Linked DNA regions of Homo sapiens: regions 1, 2, 3, 4 and 5 are each linked to region 6. Evidence: promoter capture Hi-C in 16 types of primary human blood cells and fetal thymus (Javierre and others, 2016). All regions are on one chromosome and are shown on one strand. Each heading gives the region's core, a stretch centred on a gene start or on the middle of the fragment in contact. The rest is flanking DNA. Distances are from core to core; before and after follow the strand shown.

What was found. Contacts are between HindIII fragments. The CHiCAGO score rates a contact against its expected background, and 5 or more counts as called.
Region 1: a contact is called between a fragment that was not itself captured here and the fragment with the promoter of TLR3 in region 6, in 2 of 17 cell types (M1 macrophages and monocytes). The highest score is 6.2, in M1 macrophages.
Region 2: the fragment with the promoter of SORBS2-AS1 here is called in contact with the fragment with the promoter of TLR3 in region 6 in 1 of 17 cell types (endothelial precursors); the score reaches 5.2 in endothelial precursors.
Region 3: a fragment that was not itself captured here is called in contact with the fragment with the promoter of TLR3 in region 6 in 4 of 17 cell types (M2 macrophages, M1 macrophages, monocytes and 1 more); the score reaches 9.4 in M2 macrophages.
Region 4: a contact is called between a fragment that was not itself captured here and the fragment with the promoter of TLR3 in region 6, in 1 of 17 cell types (M0 macrophages). The highest score is 5.5, in M0 macrophages.
Region 5: a fragment that was not itself captured here is called in contact with the fragment with the promoter of TLR3 in region 6 in 1 of 17 cell types (M2 macrophages); the score reaches 6.1 in M2 macrophages.

What each region holds. Positions count from the first base shown.
Region 1 is chr4:185,607,822-185,610,521 of GRCh38, forward strand. The region is part of intron 24 of SORBS2 (sorbin and SH3 domain containing 2); the gene reads right to left. Among named protein-coding and RNA genes, the nearest start is that of SORBS2-AS1, 21 kb to the left of the region's middle. The HindIII fragment of the contact is 1,477 bases long and covers 667-2,143 here.
Region 2 is chr4:185,586,516-185,589,215 of GRCh38, forward strand. SORBS2-AS1 (SORBS2 antisense RNA 1) reads left to right here and starts at 1,410. Exons shown (of 4, transcript NR_186082.1): 1 at 1,410-1,675; 2 at 2,639-2,700. SORBS2 (sorbin and SH3 domain containing 2) reads right to left here. Exons shown (of 27, transcript NM_001395207.1): 27 at 1-1,173. The coding sequence ends at 1,112. RefSeq lists enhancers at 507-1,706, 985-1,064. The HindIII fragment of the contact is 692 bases long and covers 877-1,568 here.
Region 3 is chr4:185,631,876-185,634,575 of GRCh38, forward strand. All of the region lies in intron 16 of SORBS2 (sorbin and SH3 domain containing 2), which reads right to left. Among named protein-coding and RNA genes, the nearest start is that of SORBS2-AS1, 45 kb to the left of the region's middle. The HindIII fragment of the contact is 2,635 bases long and covers 84-2,700 here.
Region 4 is chr4:185,737,797-185,740,496 of GRCh38, forward strand. The region is part of intron 2 of SORBS2 (sorbin and SH3 domain containing 2); the gene reads right to left. Among named protein-coding and RNA genes, the nearest start is that of SORBS2, 73 kb to the right of the region's middle. The HindIII fragment of the contact is 1,147 bases long and covers 694-1,840 here.
Region 5 is chr4:185,660,806-185,663,505 of GRCh38, forward strand. It overlaps SORBS2 (sorbin and SH3 domain containing 2), which reads right to left. Exons shown (of 27, transcript NM_001395207.1): 8 at 1,299-1,437. Among named protein-coding and RNA genes, the nearest start is that of SORBS2-AS1, 74 kb to the left of the region's middle. The HindIII fragment of the contact is 1,579 bases long and covers 562-2,140 here.
Region 6 is chr4:186,067,900-186,070,599 of GRCh38, forward strand. It overlaps TLR3 (toll like receptor 3), which reads left to right and starts at 1,257. Exons shown (of 5, transcript NM_003265.3): 1 at 1,257-1,349. The HindIII fragment of the contact is 1,902 bases long and covers 1,245-2,700 here.

The sequences.
Region 1 (2,700 bases), core at 155-2,654, 460 kb before region 6:
GTAGCTGGGACTACAGGCGCATGTCACCAGTACAGCTAATTTTTATATTTTTAGTAGAGACGGGTTTCACCATGTTGGCCAGGCTGGTCTTGAACTCCTGACCTCGTGACCCACCCACCTCAGCCTCCCAAAGTGCTGGGGTTACAGGTGTGAGCCACCGCGCCTGGCCCTTAAGAGATTTAATGCTTACTTACTTTAAACTATGTTGAAAAGATATTACAGGTTTCCAGATACTGACTTAGTAGAGTATAAATGACTCCAGAGAAATGTTAATGTAGAATGAAAACTAATAGTGAAGTCATTTTATTTCCTGAATGTGTGTAGTGTTCTCTTGTCCTGCAGGATAGCCCAATCTTTTAAACGCTGACAATTTTCTCACTTATGTTTGCAAGGTGATTACAACATATGAATAAAGTATTTTAGATCATTATATGTTAACAAATTTCTAAGTGAATAAGTTCTGAAAACTATGTCTCAAAGACAGGAACCCATGATCAGAATGAAGCTGAGCTTACATAACTACGGCTTCAAAGTTTTAAAAAATCCAAAGTAAATATTTACATAGAAAGCTCATTTGATGCTAACGGGAGGGAGGACTTCTGCTTCAGCTCCCGTTCTCTTTCAAAGCTTGACATTTATGTAAATCAGAGGAGGTATGAGTTATGAAGCTTAATCTTCTGAAGTAAAATATACTTACTTCTACATACGTAGTATTACTGATGTATTTTGGATATAGTAAATGAAACAATACATTTGAAATTTTATGCAAAGGTATTAAAAGTAGTTCTGATAAATATATACACCCCATATGTACCCATAAAAATTAGAAATTAAAAAATGTAGTTCCAGAAGTGCCACTTACTAACATTGGAATACGTTTATCTACCCTTACCGGACTAGAGAAAATGCTACCTGCTATGTGCCTAAAAGCCTTGAGAAGGGACCTTTCACTTTAGGTCTCTCCAGGTAGATGTCTTTGATTTGGAAAGAAAAACATCTCCAAAAAGATTCTGGAGATACACTTTCCAGCTGATTGTTTAGGATAACACTTTACACAGGGAAGCAGCCCTCTTGCTCCTGGGGACTTAGTGTGTGTGAGTGGGTGATGCATTTCCTACTTAACTTTTGACTCCTGTGTCCTATAGTAGGAGTGGGGTATTAATTAGATTTATTTAGCTTTTTTTTTTTAAGTCATCTTATCGTGGGATGACATAAATATCACAAAACTCATGTGAGCATCTTAATACAGGATTCAGGACCTGGGCTGCTTAGCTGCTGACACACAGTGAGACTGCACGTGTGGTTTGCGCCTAGGTAGACAGCCACTCCTGTTAAGTCCTGTAGATGCTGAGTTTTCAATGATATAAACCACTCAAGTCTCATTCAGCAGTCTACAGAAGTTCCCTTACTAGCTAGAGTTCTAGTTTATACCCCTTGTTACATAACACAGAAGTTTTCATAGTTAGATTTGGAAAGTCTGTGAAATATATAATAATTTCAGACCATCAGGTTTCCACTTTCACTTTCTGTTATGCCAGGAATATTATGTAGATGAGAAAGAAAGATCTTGAATTCCCTTGTCATTACTGCCACCATCACCATTGCTATCTGATGCTGCGACTACGCTGTGCCGTCACCACCACAGTCACCGAAATACATGTCAGCAGGTTAAACTGCTTAGCTTTATGATGGACTTGCTTATACCGAAAGCCAAATGAAGCATCCTGGTATAACTAGATCACAAACCTATACCTATAATACAAAACCCATACAATTATTTTGTTTTCCAAAAGCATCAGAATTGGATTCTAATGCACTAAAAGCAGAAATATCAGAAATAAAATCAACATACATTTTAGTCTCCCCTAAGACAAAGACAGTATGTCAAGAAATGTGATTTAAATGTGTCACCAGAGTGATTTATAAATTATTAATGAGTTCTCTGTTTGTAAATATCAGTTAGAAAATAGGTTCTGTAGCGTTTAGTATATTTTGGATGTTATCATTTAGAAATACATTATATTTATCTTTCTAAAAATGGTTGTCACTTCCGGGAAGTTTTCTTCATTAAGCCTGTGACATCACAGCATGGATTACCAGTTGGGATAAAACCATTAAGTATTTCTTCCTAATTATGGACATAAGCTTCTCAACATATTTTTTCCCCAGCAGTGAGCAATAAAAAACTGGTTATTAGTGAAATTTGTACATGCCTCTGTTTAAAATCTGGTATTACTTTAAAAACTTGAAAATATATTCAATTACAGTTAAATTGTATTCACATCAAAGATGAAAACATTGGGATCAAAAATATTATATTGCCATTAAATATTATATTAGGACATATGGAAGAATTTGTTAGATGTTTAATGAGCTTTTGTACATACATGCTTTTCTTCCTTACAACATTTTATTTGAAGGTACAGTTGCTTTGAAATTTCTGTGATAGTTATTTAAAGATGACTGAATGGTGGATAAGACAAATATATGCATGAAGATTCTTATCTTTTCTCTTTATCAATAGAAAATACTGAAGGAAGGATGCTGATCTGTAAATGCTAAGGTCTGGTAATGAAGTAAATATACTTAAGAAGATTCTGGAAAACTATAACCAATCAAGCAAACAAAATTGGATAGTACCAAACTCTTCCATATATTATCCATGAATACAGGGTTGAGGGTAATTATTTGCAACTGAAA
Region 2 (2,700 bases), core at 160-2,659, 480 kb before region 6:
CCTAATCCTTGCTAAAACCAACTTTAATACTTGTGATGCTTCTGTACTCTATTTCTATAAAATAATGTGTGAGATTCTATTACATTTCCATAAAATGTACAACATATCATATGGATTATATGTTCTCATACAATCTCAAATGTGTATGTGTACACACAGTGAAATCTTACCTACTAGTATTGCTTACAGATACTTTCAGGTGTCTGTTAGAATAATTCTTTGCACCTCTCACTAACACTGCTTTTACTTACATTTTTTCAGATAAATAAAACACTAAGAGCTCATTGTTCATGATGCTGATCATTACATTTTAATATAAAATAGCGATGCAACTTTACAACACAATAGTTTTCCCCTGTAGCCTAGCTCAGCCTCTTGTATTGTCATGATTATTACCGAAGGCTTTTATTTACTTACTGTTTGCACTTCTAAAAAATGCAAACAAATTGCAGAAAAAGACTCCTATTTGAAAACTCACATTCAATCAGCAAAATCACACTCATCCAAATTAACTCGCCTCCTCTTGCTTTAAAGGTTGTAATCACTGTGCATATTACAACATGTATGTGCAGGCAAACAATAGCTAAAGTACAGTTACAGTTGTCATATTGTGTAAACCAAGACACTAGGCAAACTTGTGAAAAGAATACACACTGCCAAGCGAAGAATATGAAAATGCAAACCACAGCATTCCCCAATAAACAATTTTCTGGTCGTCTTGGGGGAGAACATCGCCTGGGGGGAGATGTTGAAATGGAGCCACGAGGCTGGACAGCCTCCTGGAGACACTTTTTTTTTTTTTTTTTGCCTCAAATATTTGACCATTTTTAAATATCATGATTTTTTTCTTTCTGATCCCACATTTTGACGTGTCAAAGCTTAGAGCAGGAAGTAGGAATCCACACTTTCACGGAGGGGGACCAGCCTGCCATGTCGTCCCCAGGCTCACAGCAGCGGCGGCTACTCTGCTGGTGGTTTGGTGGCAGGTGGAGATGGTGACGGCGCATTGGAAACCGTAAGGCATGACAACGGGAGGCCCGCGGGGTGTTTCAGGCGCGTTGACGCAGGTGCATGGCTGGCAGGCGGCCTCTACAGAAGGAGGGAGCGCAATTCACAGCCTCTTGACGTAGTTTCCGGGGAAAGTACCAAAGAATTTGGTTCTTCTTGAGGTCCCTGAAAATAGAAGCGAGTCATGAAAGGGGGGTGACAACGATATCAGTTCATACACATGGGCTTGAATACTTCCCATTTACAAGGCCTCGGAAGACAGCAAGCCCCGAGGGGTTTGGAAAAGAAGGCAGGCAACTCACATGAAGCCCATAGGCAGACAAAATAAGCAGTGTTAGCTGGTTGCCTGACGCTCTCACTGCCCCTCCGGCATAAATGCTGCGCTGCCATCGCGGCAGGCTAAACAGAAATGCTGAGCCTCCCAAGCTAAAGGGAAAGTCAGCCCTGCTGAGGAGGGGGGCGGAGGAGCTCAGTCACTGAGGCTGCCACACCAGAGTCGGGGGTGAGGGATCAAGGCGAGGCTGACAGGTGACAGGGTGAGTGGAAAATCCTAAGAGCAAAGCTTCTCAGGGACCAGCAACCCGCGCAACACAGGTGCGACATGAAGACATCATCTGTGGCAGGCTGTCGCTGTTCCAACAGTTTTATCATCTTACAGAAGATCATGGTCAGTGCCACATCATTTATTTAAAAACAGCACTGCCAGAGTCCTTCATCGAGTATACAATTTTTCAACAATTTACAAATCATTAATGAAAAAAAGGATTAAGCACTATTTGTGTGTGGGAGTTCTATCAGTGGCATGATTTTTAACATGGTGTGTGTTTAACCACACGCACAAATGGCTATCATAATTATGTTCGCCTCTGGTTTCAAATAATGTAATTCCTTGGACACTTCTTGTAAAAGTTGGTGCACTAAATTGCTAAATTCTTCTTTAGGCAGCGCAGATGGACCGGATAAGGGTCTCTCAAGCTTCATCTGTCTCCTATATCCTGGCACTTACTGCCTTGGTTTGATGGCTGTTTTTCTTTTTCCTTGGCTAGGCAAGCCATTTTACGTTTCTCCTCCCTCCTCCTCCTCCCTCCTCCTCCTCCTCCTTGTTTTTGAGATGGAGTTTCGCTCTTGTCGCCCAGGCTGGAGTGCAGTGGCATGATCTCGGCTCACTGCAACCTCTGCCTCTTGGGTTCAAGCAATTCTCCTGCCTTAGCCTCCTGAGTGGCTGGGATTACAGGCACCTGCCACCAAGCCCAGCTGATTATTGTACTTTTGGTAGATACGGGGTTTCACCATGTTGACCAGGCTGGCCTCGAACTCCTGGCCTCAGGTAATCCACCCGCCTCGGCCTCCCAAAGTGCTAGAATTACAGGCATGAGCCACCGCACCCGGCCTTTTTTTCTTCTTTTAATGGAAATAAAATCAGAGGCTTGTGGCCGCACCAGGGCCTCAATTCTTTCATGATTTTGCCACCGATGGATGTCTAGAGTGAGCCCTCCTCTCCTCTCACCTTTCCTCTCTTCCATTCTCTGCCCTGCAGCCTGTGTTTCCTTTTCACCTCTTTCTGTGGCCCAGTGTAAAATACTTTTGTCTACAAATGTTTTCCCAGAAGACCTCTCGTCTTTTTTTTTAGGATGGTAAAGATGAAGTTGCCTTTTAAGTGGGAAGAATGGAACGTCTCTCTGCTTCCACCAC
Region 3 (2,700 bases), core at 151-2,650, 440 kb before region 6:
TATTTGATGATCAATTCATCACAGATAAAATTTGGTTTGATGAAGAACTGGAATTCTAGTTTAAAAACATTTGTCTGTATGAAAGCTTAAAAATGTCAGCCAGAAAGGCAAGGTTTGACAAATGTTGTCTTAAGTTGCCATCATCTAGAAACATTTTATCAGAGTATTAAACATCTACTTAGTGGAAATCAAATCTCACTTTACAAACTATTTCTATAACTCAGTTTTCTATTAATTGGTAAATTAGCACCAATTAATCAATTAAAACAATACAATTTTGCAATTCTGTATGTATATCAGTCTTACAAGGTCCCTTTTGCATAACTTACGCTTCTATTAACTAATATTTTAATTTAATTCTATCTTACTAAATGAAAATGGAATCTTGTCTAGAAACAAAAGCATCTCTGCATGAGAATATTCCCATCCTCCTTTTAGACAGAAAAAGTGGATTGTAATATTTTTAGTTCCTAGAAAATATTTAGATTTCTAGGTTCTCAACAAATATAAAATCAGGAGAAAAGTTTGGTTTGCTAGTCTGATATGTGTACATGGTTATTTTAATTTGCTGAGCTCTGAATCAGACACTGGGAAGGTAGAAAAATAGATACTAAATATGAAAGAAAGCAAACAAGTAAAATAAAATCAGATCGTTATATTACAATTAAGAAATATTAATTCTACTCGTTTGCAGAAGAGCGACACTGAAGAGCCTGAGAGCATCGGCGTCTGTGCAGATCACGGCTTTCGTGGGACACCCTCACACACAGCTGATCACCAAAAAGTGTGAAGTTCACAACACTCTTAGAACAACCCTACAGTGATCAGAAAATTTGAATTGTCAACTTATAATGAGCCTAAACAATATTGTAATGTGAAATAAAACATAGTGTAAGAACTGATTGTGTTTTAGGGTTAGGCTAAGAAACTACTATTTCTCCTTGTACTGGTTTCTACATTCAAAATAAATGAAAACCAGTTTTGCGGTTTCATGTACACTCAGAGAAAGTTCAGTATTAAATTGTAAGATAAGAGTAAAAAATCTAGATTGATGACTGAGAGAAAAACTTGTACAATAATTGTAAGAAGTGTACTCATCCCAAAATGAAAATTATCTCCAGAAAAGAGGTTACAAATTTTACCAGTTATGATCTACTATTTACATATTACCATTATTTTAACACACTTAGAAGGTCAATTTAGTGAAGTACAGATACTGAATCACTCTTTCTGTTAAGTAGCTATGAGATTAAATTTTGCTTAAATATCCGTAACTGTTCTTCATTAATGCCAGTTTTCCAGTTATGGATTAAAATCTATGTTATTCATGGTATATACCAGGCAGTTGATAAACGGTAGCTAAGGTAATGTCTAATCAATTACATTTGTTTTTACCAGAAATGTTTAATAACAAAAGGTTATTAAAGACAAAATCCAGAACCTTAAGAGAATATATTTTCTTACATTCTGAAAAACTATAATGTGAAATTAATAACATAGTTAACATATGCTATTAGAATCATACAGCACCCCCTCTCAATCCCAGAGATAACTGGCAAATAGATCAACTACTGGCAAAGTGCTTTTTATGTGTTGTTTTTTTTTTTTTGCCACTACCATCACATAATAGAATGCATAGAGTTAAGTTTCTACTATTTTTATGCCCAAGAATTATTGTGTAATATTAATTAACAGAACTCTTTTCACAGGAATTCAATAGTTAACAAGAAATAATATTAAGTAAGTAATTTGTTTTTAAAAGATTTATCCTCTAAATATATATCTTGGAAGTGCTGAAAAGTGTGATATAAAGGAAATAGCACAGAAATGAAGGTTAAGAGAGATATATTTTTTTTTCTGCCACTATCTTACCATGTGATTTTGGACTTATTTCTTAAAATTATTGCACTCTACTTTTTTTTTTAACTGAAAAATGAGTGAATTGGACATGATGCACTCTAAATTCCATTTCAGTTATCTATGAACCAACTACCTTAAAAACACCCTAGAAATATCTGAGAAAAATATCTGACCACATTGAATTTCAAAATAAATTCTTGGGTTGTTCATATGTTGAAATAAGACTCTTTCTGCAGATATTAAGGTAACATAACATACAGAATATAACCCCTTGTTTTATTTGATTTTCTTCAGATTACATGCCTGCCTGCCTGGCTATAAAATGTAAGCCTTTAGAAATAACTGAATTCAATAACCCAGAATGTTCCTGATTACTCTATTTTACCTTTTATTTAATATATAAATATTTTGATCACTTCTCAGTTTTAACACACACTCTGATGTTTACCACAGGGTAAATAATTTGAAATTGCAAGTTGAGACGCTAGAAATTTGCATATTTTCTTGAGACTCTATACCTGCAATTCCAGTGGTCACCACTATGTGTCAGTAGTACCTCCTACAACACAACGGTTCTACTGGTTGTGTTTCCCAGTTGCACATATTTAAGACTTTTAATGAAAATAAGATATTTATTGTGTTATAGTATTCACTTAAGACCACAGAGCAACTAATGTGCAAAAAACAGTTTATTTACTTCGTTCCCATGCTAGTTGCTTCTAAGAGTTCCTTGCAAGGAGGCTTTTATATAGCTGATGGCTAGCAAAACAGTGCCATTTCTGCTTGTGTCTTCTAATGAGTCATTTATCCACTTTCTAAAGTAATTTTCTGCTTTTCTTT
Region 4 (2,700 bases), core at 17-2,516, 330 kb before region 6:
CTGAGGTAAAATGGGAAAACAGTTTTAACAGTGCAGTGAAGCTTCCTGCCAATAAGCAAACCTTTCCACCCTCCGCTCAGCTACAGAAACACATTTGGGAGCTCCAGGGAGGAGGCGGAGGGGCACAGGCGCTCCCCAGTGTGGGCCACGCTCAGGTGTCCCTTCACAATGGCAGCCACACTGCTTCGTGAAACGGACACACTACGGGATGGAAAACAGTGAGAGGGAAGCCACGGCATCAAGAAGCAATAATCACAGAATGTTTTTGTGCTGTCCACGCCTTCCTCAACATCTGCCTCCACTTCCAAGTCAATCGAGACAGCCTGTTTATGTGGAGCTTTGAGATGACACATACACTTTACTGACCCTAGAACAATACCCTTTCCACATCTAAAGCAATTTTCGTGTAAATGACTGTGCCATTAACCTTCCAGGGTCATTCAAATATTTTCTGAGAAATTGGCTGCTTTCGGGATTTTCTTAGAATGCCATGTGTTTCATTTTTGTGCAGAACAGATGACAGGCGAGGCATTCCAACAGGACTTCAGTTGATTTAACTAATTCCTGTCAGGGGAAGTGAAGTGTTGGGATTCATAAAGCCGATCCCAGCCCGGAGATTTTCCTTTTCCCAAAACAGAAAAAACAAGACATGCTGTGTGGTTTTGCAACCGGGCAAGTTTCGAAATATTTTTAAGCTTTCTACTTTGCCAAGTATTTCATAAAAAAACTATTTTCTTTTTGTTTCGTGCCAAAAAATGTCACCCCTAAATATTTTTTCCCATATCTGGTCACATGTCCAGGATTTTTTCTTTTCTAAGAATAAATAATTTTTCTGGGTTATAAAAATTCCACTTGCTCTATCAGATTAAACATATCTTTATATAGAAAAAGCATCCGAAACATTCCCCAAGTGGGTCTAAGGGAGGAGTCTTAATACAATTTTGTTAAATTAATTTTGATTAAATATTAGGCCTTGAATTCTTTTTGTGACTCTCACAAAGTTCAGGCTTATTTTGTTACACTTTCAAGTCTCCCTTTTTTTCACTCTCCACATACTGTTTCCTTTTATTAGAAAGCATTCAAGAAGAATTGATTGGTGTGTTTGACCAAAATAATATGTTGGAAGTGATACCAGTGCAAGGGGACCCTCTGGGTTCCATTCTCTATTTGCATAGTTAGCTGGAGTTAGAAGGTTCAGCTGTCAGGGATTCAAGAACTCTAGCATCAAAAAAGTGTGAACTTGCAAATGAGCTGTCAAGGTTCATAGCAAGTGAATAATGCAGCTGAGAGCTGACTTGTCTCCACCCTGGTGTTCTATTGATCTTGCTGCTGGATAAAGCATAGGCACATAGGAACACTGAAAAATAGCAATTTGTATGGGTTGGACTGGTATTTTCTTTTTTACCAGTTAAAATGTTAATTACATTCACAAAGTCAAAAAGCTGAATAAATAGTCTTACAGTTGGAAATATAGGGCAAAACAAAACACAGGCTTGAAAAAGCAATAATAGCTATACACCTAAAATGTGAAAAATATTCATAGAGAAATGAATTGTAGGGCATTAACTCTTGCAAAACCACCAAAGGCCTGGTGGAATTAATATGCTACAGATTTGAAACTTAACATTGGGCAACTTAAAATGCATGTATTTGTTATTGATATTTAACTAATCCTTGTAAGTAAATCTACTATAAGCGAAAAGCATTCTAAATTGATGTTATTGCTAGTTTGCAGGGAAATTCTGAAAGTCTATGTGTTTGTTGGTGCATGAGGGGATGTGCGTATTGAGGTGTGTGTTCAGGATGAGGGCTTCTGGTCCTTTAGAAATGGTTCCCTCTAAGCTTCTTGGTTTCCAAATCTTCATCACTCTTTTTAAAATCTAAAAATGCAGGTTTACTTTATATGGAGAGCACATTGCTATGAGGAGATGTGACATTTCAGAAAGAGCACATGGCACTGATTCTGAAATGCTACCAAGTTGCTTCAGAATATACCCAAATTCTCTCAAAGATTAATGATACACTAAGAAACTGAAGGACACAGCAAATTATTTTGCTTGTCTTCAACCCACTGTCACCCTGCCACAAATTGAACCTAATAAAATTTCCATCCCTCTCCCATCTTATGATATGACCCTTCCCCCTCATGCATGGGGAAATTGTTATTTACATTGTGAAAATATCAAGCATCTCCAAACACTTACGTTTTGTGGAGCCGGGTCTCCCATGGTAAAATGAGAGCCCAACACGGTGAGTTTGCTTCCTAGGAATGGCAAATCAGCATCGCGATGCCCTCAAACCAGAAATAATACCCTTCATTTGCTGCAACTGGTTGAGTATCAGTGCTATAAAAAATAGATGATGGAAAACCGGAGCCCTTGACAGAAATACAAGTCTGCTGTGTGTGGCTTGTGCAGGAATGGAGCAGAGAGAAGCGGTGGTCTTGTCTACACATCATACTTGGGCTTCGCCCATGCTGACAAGTGGAAGCACATGCACAGTGGACACACGCTGTCAGGACATTCATCCCTGCTGGCACGTAAACGGCAGGGAGCTAAACTGCTAGAATTCAAGTGGCACAGAAACTTGAGCCTATGGAATATCACTGTGGAGTGGGCAGGCCAAGTTCTTTACAGTGCTCTTTGCTTTTGCAAAGAGGTAATTTCCAACTCAAGAATGCTCTGTGGCTTTGGCGTCAAG
Region 5 (2,700 bases), core at 101-2,600, 410 kb before region 6:
TGGGAGGTGCAGGATGGTGCTGCTGTCCTGAGAATTCCCCTCTGCTCCCTGCTGTCCTAGAAGCTTCCTAGTGAGTCGACATCATGGAAACTTGTACAGCCTGAATTCCTATGATAGTTCAATTTCGTATTTTTTTTGATATTTTAGGTTTTTAAGTTACATTTTTACAAACTAAGAAATATTTATGGGCCGGGCACGGTGGCTCATGCCTGTAATCCCAGCACTTAGGGAGGTCGAGGCAGGTGGATCACCTGAGGTCAGGAGTTCGAGACCAACCTGGCCAACATGGTGAAACCCCCTGTCTGTACTAAAAATACAAAATTAGCTGGGTGCGGTGGCGGGCACCTGTAATCCCAGCTACTCAGGAGGCTGAGGCAGGAGCATCACTGGAACCCAGGAGGCAGAGGTTGCAGTGAGCCGAGATCGCCCCATTGCACTCCAGCCTGGGCGACAGAGTGAGACTCCATCTTGAAAAAAAAAAAAAAAGTATTTATCACATTATTTTCTGAACTATCTGAACATACTTGACCATGTAAGAGCATTTCTATCACTGTACAGCAAAGCTTCTTTCACAGGAGGCCACAAAAAGTCCATGAGCCCCAGGAAATTATCTGCTTACAATTTTTTATGAACGTCCGTATGTCCATTTGTTTTCTGGAGGAGAGCTCTATCTTTCACTGAATTCCTAGTCCTCAGAGGGTTGAGAACGATTGCTCTATACAATGACAGAACCTTCATTTAAGGGAACACTTAAGTTTCTCTTGTGTGGCTTCCTGCTACCATATCCCTGACTGCAGGTCTTCCAGCCTTGGTTTGAATGGTGGTTTTCTCCTTGTGTGAGCCAGTAGATGACTGCGTCCCTGCTATGTGGGACAGCCTGTCCTCCTGTTACACTGTTTTAACTGTCAAACGATTCTCCCTTATATAGACCCCAGGAAATAGTCCATGGTGGAAGCTCTTCCAAGTCCGAACAAGCTGCCCTAGTGGAAAACCTGCATTCATGTCCTCCAGTGGCACAAACCCCCTTGCCCTAAGTAGCCATTTTCTTTTTCTTTCTACTCCACCACCTCAGACATCTAAGTGCCCACACCAGGCTCAGACACAGGTGGAGACATGGTCTTGGAATAGCATGGTGCCCATTTCCTCCCATGTTGGGTCCTCTGCCCCAGTTTCTCCCTGGGGATAGGGTCATGAGTGCTGAGCGCTCCCGCCTCACCTTGATGCCGCATATCTTTCTCCTGTGGTTGTACTTGCCGCATTGAGGTTGCCATGGAAATCACGGTGAGTAAATTACTTACCGAGGGATGTGCCGTGCTGCATGACAATGCTGGAGTTGAGTGAGGCTGGGAGAGAATATGCCGAGGGGGAAAACGGCCTCTGATAGTAACTCATGGGACTCACGGCACCTCCTGAGTTTCCATTCACTGTTATCTGGCTCTGAGAAAAGCGCAAAGGCATCGAGTTAAATTAGCACATAGTTCCCTGTAAACATCATTCCATTAGGTGATAATAAAAGACTTCCAATCACATGAGAGTAATCAGCTGCCAAGCTCTTATTTATTTTGAAAACTGATGTCAGAGGGCATGCTACATTCTTTGCCTTCTCTCTATTCCCTTATTTCTGAAAATCACTCTCTTGTGTATCTGAGGGTCCAGGGAGTGGTTAGGAAGAATGAAAGTGGCTGACTAGTGGGCATGCCACTCTGCCAACAGAGGTGCCAAATGGTATCAGTAGGAGTCAGTACCAAGTAAATGTGGAGGACGACTTTGCTCTGACAGTCGTAACATCAGCAATCAGAACACGGTGGTGCTGTTCCGCATGCAGCATTGACGTGGATGTCCTTTGACATGAGGCAAGGGATTGGTTCTCAGACTTAGTCAGGGATATCTTCTAGTGAATGAATGTTTCCAGAGCTGGTGAATAACATAAGGAACCTAGTTGTTTGGATGTATATATCATGAAGCAACCTATTCTAGAAGGATCAAATACCTGGTAAAGGATCAGAGAGACATGTTCAACCACTGGCTTCTCCCTACTTCAGCCTCATTGAGCACTTCATGAATCTCTGTTTGATTTCTTAATTATTCATTGTTTCGATTGTTCCGTATCTGACTATTTTATATCCCCAATGGTATCTCAAGCTTCTTGTTGAAGATGGTCATATATATGCTTCTTTAATATTTTGTATAACATGCAGCCTAGTGCTGATGACAGAGTAGATGTTCAATAGGTATCTATTCTGATGGAACTGAATCGGCTTAGTTCACAGATATCGAGCTCAGGACTATTAAGCATGCCTGTCTACCCACAGCACAGTACTGATCATTACAGGGCGCACACAATGCATGCAAATAAGATCAAACATTAGTAAGAACGTTTAGTTAAAATTATAGCTAAATACACACAACACACATAGGCACACAGATAAAGAAGCATAATTTGTGAAACTTTTCTACTTATTTTAAAACAAAACAAACTTCTATTCCACAGGCTTGAAACATAGATATAGTAACTGTGTATTTCTATGATTTCACTTTAAAGCAAATGGGTTTTCAAATGACCTAGAATAAGTCTAATTTCATTACTGTATAACCATACCACTTATGTCCCCAAATCAATAAACATTTCATTACAAGCCTTGTGCTTATTGATTAAATAATTCTCTAAGCTGTTAGAAAAATTACACTCATATCATAACC
Region 6 (2,700 bases), core at 7-2,506:
TTCTGAGGACGAGTCTCTTTCATTGAAGGCCAAAGAAACAGTCTACCTCAGAGGGTTGCTGGGGAGCTATAATGCAAAGAATAAACCTCACCCTGCCTTCAAGGCGCTCACAGAGAAGAAATCTTTTGAATATTAGTGAAGTTTTCCTGGACATCCCAATGGATAGATGTGAGGGACAGTCACGTACTCAGGACATCTGTTTGCTTATGGTGTTATGTTACAGATGTCACAAATGAAAATCAGAGACATGTAGCCCTGAGCCCAGTAACTATAAAGCGGTCTAGCTGAAGCTGGAGCCCACAAGAGGGCACTTTGCACCATGATGCACGCTTGTTTCTTGCCATCAGCTCTGCAATGAGTTCAAGCTAATGCCATGTCCCAGCCGTCCAGTTGTTTTATGACTTGTGTGATTGAAGCATATGGTGGCTTGTGGCATGTTCTTAGGCAAACCACTCACCTCCCTAGGTTTCGTTTTCCTAATTTCTCAAACAAGGGAGTTAGATTAGGTGGTCTATAGTTCCTTCCAATTGTGATATTTCACTATATAACAATATAGTTATAATAGATCATAGCACATCTGTAATGAAAAAAAGTGAGTTCATTTCTTAACAAGTACATTTACTTAACTAGTTGGAGTCATTAAAGCAAATTAAGAACGAAATTCTTAGTTAATCTGAACTTTTCTGGGCATACTGATCTGTTCCCTAACGCGTCTGACCGTGGAAAAGTGGATCAGCAGGAGTGGGACTGGCTCTCAGCTTTGCCATGTTTGGCTCTTTCTCTGCTGTGAAACTCAGTTTCTTCCTGGATCAAGAGGTTAATTTCTGCCGGTGTTATTTTACAGTGTTGCAAAGAGATAAAAGCCAGACGAAAGAAGGGAAAGTACTTCAGCTTTGATTAGGGATTTTTTTTTCTGTCCCTGTGACCATACACTACTCAATTCTGACAGCTTCGCATGAGTCTAGCAGAAAATTGAGGGATTCACTGTTATTCCTTAACTTGCAGAGGTCCAGACCCGCCCACATCAAATGGTGAGGTCCCCACTTTCAACTTTAGCTGTTGCTAAATCTGTGACCCTTTCAATGAAATCCAAGGATCTCAGCTTAAAAAAAGTTAAAATAAAATAAAAACTAGGTGTTTTTCAGAGGCGGTTTGAAACGCCTCTCTGAGGTTGTCAGAGATTGTTTTTGTTTTCTCCCTTTGCCCTTCTTGGAATGCACCAAACATAAAAGCATTTTTTTTCAAGCTTTACTTTCACTTTCGAGAGTGCCGTCTATTTGCCACACACTTCCCTGATGAAATGTCTGGATTTGGACTAAAGAAAAAAGGAAAGGCTAGCAGTCATCCAAGTAAGTGAAGGTGTTCATTTCACGTTCTTACTGGGCAGGGTCTCTCTTGCTGAGTAGAGTTTGCTAGCAGAATGCATGTGGTTTTAGCCTTCTTTGGTCTTTCTTTGATCTGGTGCTTGAAATCTAGTCAGAATTATTCAGGAAGGAAAGTGGAAGAAAAGGGATATGATATGGGCATGGGAGAAGGGTATAACTCAGAACACAAGTAATAGCACCAATATCTAGTTAATGTGATAATGTATTTATGCAGTATTTAATTTTTTTCTCTGTAGCATTCTGTACCTGGAAAAAACACATTAGGGAAGCTATGGAAATCATTTTGCAACAGTCTTTTTAGCAAATCACATCTTTGCCTTAAAGAAACAAAACTCCAAGAGGTTAAAAGAGCGTATCCCCTTTTGTTAGTTTTATTGGCTGGAGGGGAGACAGGAGCTGGCATTGTATGACAATGTCTTAGATAGGAGAGAACATTCAGGTATGCCTAGGAGTAAGTAAATGGCTTTCTTTCACCTAATGAAGGATAATGGAAGAAGTGGAGAAGTGGAAAGTTGTTAAGGTGTATGGGAAGATCAGAAACTGGTATCGGCAATTGTGGGGTACTCGGGTAAAAATGGAGTTGGCTTCAGCAAGTTGATTCCCAGGTTTACAGATGATTACGTGCTGGTATGTGTCTTCATATGGGCGTGCCTGTGTATGAACCTACTACAAAGGTTGCAAAGTTTACAAATCAAACTATGGATAGTGGTTAACTCCAGGTAGTCTGCCTCCAGACCCCATGTCCTAACCATCAGGCAATATTGTCTCTCACTTGGACAAAGAATGTGAATTCCATGTGCCCTCACAAAATATTTCCAAAATTCTAAGGCTGAGTGAGTCTCTTTTTAATTTTTTTTCATTTTCTTTATTTCTGCTAGATCTCATTCAACAGCAACGTTTTCTTCACTCTCATTTCATCCTTTAACTGCATTTTTGCTTGTTTTACTGAAGCATGTCCTAGAATAACCTTTTCATACAGATCGTATGGCTATAAACTTACTGAATTTTTGCATATCTCAAAATACTTATACCTTTTTATTTAGTTATTCAGATGGATGTGAAATTTCCCTATCTTATTTTATTTTATTTTATTTCATTTTATTTCATTTATCGATTTAGAGACAAGGTCTCGCTGTGTTGCCCAGGCTGAAGTACAGTGGCATGATCGTGGCTCACTGCAGCCTTGACCTCCCTGGCTCAAGCAATTCTCACACCTCAGTGTCACGAGTAGCTGGGACCACAGGTGTGAACCACTATGGCCAGCTAATTTAAAAAAAAATTTTGGTGGAGATGAGGTTTCCCTGTGTTGCCCAGG